Regions from separate parts of the Homo sapiens genome. Here region 1 is linked to region 2. Evidence: promoter capture Hi-C in human tissues and cell types (Jung and others, 2019). All regions are on one chromosome and are shown on one strand. The core of a region is centred on a gene start or on the middle of the fragment in contact, and the rest is flanking DNA. Distances in the headings are between cores, read along the strand shown.

Region 1 (2,700 bases), core at 37-2,536, 220 kb before region 2:
GTCTCCTGGAGCCCAAGAAGGAGAAGGAAGAAGAGGAGCTGTTTCCCGAGTCAGAGCGGCCAGAGATGCTGAGCGAGCAGGAGCACATGAGCATCTCGGGCAGTAGCGCCCGACACATGGTGATGCAGAAGCTGCTCCGCAAGCAGGAGGTAGGCAGAGGGGCAGGGTGGTGGCGGGGGAGAGGGTAGGGGGGCGGGGCCGCAGTGCTCAGCTGTCTTCCCCTCGGCCCTGCCCCACAGTCTACAGTGATGGTTCTGCGCAACATGGTGGACCCCAAGGACATCGATGATGACCTGGAAGGGGAGGTGACAGAGGAGTGTGGCAAGTTCGGGGCCGTGAACCGCGTCATCATCTACCAAGAGAAACAAGGCGAGGAGGAGGATGCAGAAATCATTGTCAAGATCTTTGTGGAGTTTTCCATAGCCTCTGAGACTCATAAGGCCATCCAGGCCCTCAATGGCCGCTGGTTTGCTGGCCGCAAGGTGGTGGCTGAAGTGTACGACCAGGAGCGTTTTGATAACAGTGACCTCTCTGCGTGACAGTGGTCCCTCTCCCCGGACTTGCACTTGTTCCTTGTTTCCTCTGGGTTTTATAGTGATACAGTGGTGTCCCCGGGGCCAGGCGCGCTCTGCCCAGCCCAGCCTACAGTGCGGATAAAGGTGCGGATGCTGCTGGCCCTGAACGTCCGTGTGTCTGCCGTCGGTCCTGTCACCGATCCTGGGCGTGTGTCCTTAGGGGGTCTAGGGCGAGGAGGCAGGGTTGGGGGGGTCTCTGGACCTGCTTCCTGTTGGCAGGAGGGGCCTGCCGTGGGCGAGACCTGGGCAGGGGGTTGGCGCCCCGGGCCCCGTCCCGCGGGTGGCGGCGGCTGGGTGGGCGGGGCTGCCTGGGGCGCCAGGCTCTCGCGCGCGGGCTCGCAGCCGTCCCCGCAGGGTGGTGCTGAGAGAAGGCTGGGCACCGGGACACCGCGACCCGCTGGACAGCGCGCGCTGCCAGTGCTTTTGTGCCGCAGAGCCGGCCGTCCAAGGCGGGCGGGCGGGCATGGTCGCTTCCCGGGAGGAGGCTGTGCGTTAAGATTCGTGGCCAAATGCCGCGGGGCCAGGGGCCGGGCTGAAGACCGGAGGGCGGAGGGCGCCGCCTCTCGTGGATTGTAGCTCCCAATATCCCGCGCGCGGGGCGGGCCCGGCTTCCCGGCACGCTTTGCGCGGTGCCGCTACGGGTCCTCAGAGGCGGCGGCGCGCGGGGCCTTCTGGGGGCCGCAGTCCGGGCGTGCTAGGCGGCGAGGGCCGGACTCGGCTTCCCGACGGGCTGCGCGGCGGCCGGGTGGGTGTCGGCGGGGCAGTCCGGCGGGCAGCGGCGGTTCCGGTGCGGCACAGCGGGCGGACGAGCGGGCGGGACGAGCTGAGCAGGACCAAGCGGGATGCGGAGCCGCCGCCGCCGCCGCTCCCCGCGCTTCCTAAGAGTCTGAGACCCGCCGGGCCGCGCCCCCTGCCCAGGCCCGCAGTCCGAGCGTTCCGAGCGCGGGCCGGGCCCAGCGCCGGCCGCGGCCGCGTCCCCGTCCAGTCTCGGGCGGCCCGCCCCCTGCCTGCGCCCCCTCCCCATGCGCGGCGCCCATGCGGACTGAGCCCCGCCCCCCGGCCCCGAGCCCGCCGAGCGCCGCCGCCGGAGCCCGCGCCGCCCACCCGCACCATGCTCAAGTGCATCCCGCTGTGGCGCTGCAACCGGCACGTGGAGTCGGTGGACAAGCGGCACTGTTCGCTGCAGGCCGTGCCGGAGGAGATCTACCGCTACAGCCGCAGCCTGGAGGAGCTGCTGCTCGACGCCAACCAGCTGCGCGAGCTGCCCAAGGTGAGCGGCCGCCCGCACCTGCCGCCCAAAGGCGCGCCCCCAGCCCGTGATTCCTCCGGCGGCAGAATCTGCCCGGGCGAGTCACCGCAGCCTCCAGCCGGCCCTGCTGGTTTGCACTGGCCAGGTCCCCACCCCAGCCAGCCCCACCCTTCTCTTCCAGCCGCCCTGGCTGGCGCAGGTGGCAGCGGTCATCAGGTGCTTGCCTGGGGATAGCGATTGTCACCGAGCCTGGAGGCGGAGCCTCAGAGTGAAACCCGTGGGGATTCAGGGAGGTGGATGGGGTTAGGGTGGAACTTGGATTCAGGTGGCTGATGAGTACTAGCTTCTTGGGCCGCTCTGGAGGTGGGTCCAGACCTCCTCTCCTTTTTTGCTGGGTGCAGGGGTGAGTGGGGGAGCCCTCTTGATGTACTCTTTGCTCTCGGATCTGTTCGCTGTCCCCCTTTCTTTACCCTTGCTTCTCGTGGTCAGGTGCTCTCCTAAGGCTGCTACAAGAAAGGAGGCTGGAGAAAGCAGATTAAAAAGTATTTCTTTTCTGGAGATGGGGTGCTGGGTGATCAGTACCTAGGGGTTGGGTGTCCCAAAGAATGTGACCCTGTTCTGGCCGTGGCAGTGACAGCTCGGTCCTCTGTGGCCACCTGCAGGCCTCGCGCGTAGCACTGTGCCTGTGGTACTGTGTTATTGTGGGGAGCGTTTACTGAGTTCTTGCTGCAGAACCAGGCCAGGCTTGTTGTCAGGATGCAGTAGCAGAGGCCAGTGTGGGCCCCTGGAGGGTGGCAGAAGTGGTTCAGGGGCTGGGTGGGCCCTGAGGTAAGACACAGGGTAGGGGATTGGGGCTTTGTCTGGTCGCCAGCAGGT
Region 2 (2,700 bases), core at 142-2,641:
GGCGGGTCCGGCAGCCGCCCGATGACCAGCGGCTTCAGCTTGTGGCTGCCGGTCAGGTTTGCGGCCAGCAGCACCGTTACGCGGTCGCCCCGCCAGCGCCGGCCACAGCCCCCCGCCCCGGGGTCCCCTGCGCCCGGGGGCGCAGCCTGCTCCGGAAGCAGCTTCCAGTAGAGGCCGGTGACGCTGGCGCTGTAAATCTGCTCGTCCCCGTAGCCGCCCTCGGCCGGGGGCGGCGGGGCCGGGGCGCGGTCGGGCAGGGGGCCGGCGCCGGAGGGCAGCGCGGGCTCCTCCTTGACGGGCGGGCCGGGCGCGGGGCTCGGGGCTGGGGGCCCGGCCTCGCCGTAGAAGCGCTGGCTGGAGATGCCGTGGCGCTTCTGCCAGCGCCAGAACCAGCCGTGGCTGGCCTTGAAGGTGCACTCGGGCCCGTAGATCTGGCGCGCGAAGGCCTCGGCCTGCGCCTGGATGAGCGGGCCAGACAGCGGCACCCCGTGCTGGCGCAGCGCCAGGAACCAGGCGTACACGGCGCGGTCGATCTCCTCCTCGTTGGCCAGCCGCATCTTCTTGCGCTGAGTGCCCACCTCACCGCCCAGCTGCTCCAGGAACCAGCGCAGCTTGGGCTCGTCCTTGAGCCAGCCGCGCAGCGTCCCGCCCGGCACGCCGAAGTCGCGGCACACACTGGCCTGCCGCTCGCCGCCCTTGACGCGCTCGATGGCCTGCAGCTTGTCCTTGATGGAGTAGGCCTTGCGGAAGGCCATCTTCACGGCCACGCGGGGCCGCGGCCCGGGCGCGGGGGGCGGCGGCCGTGCAGCGGGGACGGGGGCTGGGGCGGGCGCGGGGGGCCCGGGCAGGGGACGGCGGCCGCGGCGCGGTACCGGGCCGGCCGGGGGGCCCGCGGGGTACATGGCTGCGGCGGGGGGGACCCGGGCCGCGCGGGTCGCGGGAGCCACACGCCCAGCCGCTCGGGGCGGGGCACTCGGGGGCGGGGCCGCACGGGTCCCTCCCCTTTGTCCCGCAGCTTGGCGGGCGCACGCGCGCTGACCTAGCCCGGCCCGGCCCCGCCCCGCGCCTGCGCGCTGGCCGCCTCGTGCGTCACTCGGCGCTTGCCGGCTGCCGGACCCGCCCCCACCGGCGACACCACTGGCCGCGAAGCGCAGGGGGGGCGCGCGCGCTGCCGCCCGTTCCCAGCACTTGTGCAGACTCCTCCGGGGAAGAGCGGCCTCCGCGGTCATCTCCAACGGAATTCTGCCTTTGAAGTGTCGGGGCACGGCGCGTCGAGGGTCCTGGCGGCCAGGCGGGGCGTGTGCAAGGGTCGCGTCCCCCCCCCGGGCCCCCGGCCCGTGGCTCTTGGTAGAGCCCAGTGCTTCATTTCCCGTGCGCGGCCCGGGCGGCCCTCCCTTTCATCAGTCTTCCCGCGTCCGCCGATTCCTCCTCCTTGGTCGCCGCGTCCTTGGCTGGCGTGTGAGTACCGCGGCCCCCGCCGGAAGGAGTCGGGCGCGACAGAGACGCCCGAGGGGCCGGGAGGGCGGGCGGCCCGGGCTGCGCCAGAAGCTCGCGCCGTTAGGGACTGAGGCACAAGTGCGCCAGCGCGGGCTTAGGGGCCGTGGGCCAAGTGCGGCACTTGGGGCGAGCGCAGAGAGGCGGGGCGACGGAGGCCACGTGGCCGGCTTGGAGGGCGTCCGCGGGACGGGGGCGCCGGGAGCACTGTCTCACGGCGCATCCCGGTCGTGGAAGCCCCTCGGCCAGGCTGCTGGGGCCTAAGGCCTGTGTTTGCTGCCGTCTCCGTGGGAGACCAGACATCTGCCCCAGCTGTTTCTCTGGCCTGCAGACCTTCGTACACCACGTCTTTGTCAAGCACCAGTTACTGCACGCATCAGCTGAGCACGGAGGGGATAGGCACGGACGCAACACTTTTGGAACTTAGACGCTAGTGAGCACGGAAAGGAATAAGCCTGTACTGTGACTGGGTCAAAATTTCTGTCTCTTGATTTGGATAGGGTGGTCGGGCAGTCTCTGAAGGGGGCGGGGATGCTGTTGCTAAGAAGTAGTACTTTCAGAGGCTTTAAGTGGAAGGAAGAAGGCAAAGGGGGCGGAGTGGGTTGGGGACCTGATGAGACGTCAGGATTGGTTTCCAGAATGAAGGACCGCCTGGCAGCAGAAGAACTGTGTAGCTAAACTTGGGGTTGTCCCTGCCCGACAGGGCGGGGTGCTTCTTAAGTTGACACTGCCTGCGGCTCACCTCCCAGGGAGGCAGGCCAGGCCATCTCACCTGAGCAGCCTCCTTCTACAGCTCCGCCCACCCCGTCATCTGGACCCCATGAGCCTTAAGCAGCTGGCTCGCAGGCAGTTGGTTACTTCCGGAGCCCGTGTGTGCCCAGCCCCGTTCTGGGGGTGGGGGATGCAGCTGAGGGGCTGGGCAGGTGTGGAAGGAGCCCCCGAGCGTCCTCTGAGGAAGTAGACGCTCACCTTCGCCTTCTCACCACATGCCTCAGGCCCAGCCAGGCTCCTAGACCTGCCTCTGTAGAGGCTTTCTGGGCGCAGTGCCAATCCTGTGAGACAGCAGCATCTCCCCTGGGCTGCTGCAGGGTTCACACGCAGTCAGTGCTGGCAGAGTGAGCGCCCAGCCGACAGAGCCCCCGCTGCCTCCCGCCTCCTCTGGAGGACTAGGCCCTCTGGGCTTTGCTCCCGGGTTGCTGGGTGAGG

Evidence for each region. Contacts are between HindIII fragments. The study calls those that stand out against the background at their distance.
Region 1: a contact is called between the fragment with the promoter of SCRIB here and the fragment with the promoter of EEF1D in region 2, in 8 of the 25 tissues and cell types used here (IMR-90 fibroblasts, adrenal gland, dorsolateral prefrontal cortex and 5 more).

What each region holds. Positions count from the first base shown.
Region 1 is chr8:143,814,359-143,817,058 of GRCh38, reverse strand. SCRIB (scribble planar cell polarity protein) reads left to right here and starts at 1,286. Exons shown (of 37, transcript NM_182706.5): 1 at 1,286-1,845. The coding sequence starts at 1,687. It overlaps PUF60 (poly(U) binding splicing factor 60), which reads left to right. Exons shown (of 12, transcript NM_078480.3): 11 at 1-149; 12 at 240-715. The coding sequence ends at 539. RefSeq lists enhancers at 694-1,326, 1,327-1,959, 2,244-2,700. The HindIII fragment of the contact is 41,605 bases long and covers 1-2,700 here.
Region 2 is chr8:143,596,106-143,598,805 of GRCh38, reverse strand. It overlaps EEF1D (eukaryotic translation elongation factor 1 delta), which reads left to right and starts at 1,391. Exons shown (of 10, transcript NM_001130053.5): 1 at 1,391-1,458. It overlaps TIGD5 (tigger transposable element derived 5), which reads right to left and starts at 975. Exons shown (of 1, transcript NM_032862.5): 1 at 1-975. The coding sequence starts at 902. RefSeq lists an enhancer at 2,144-2,700. The HindIII fragment of the contact is 45,525 bases long and covers 1-2,700 here.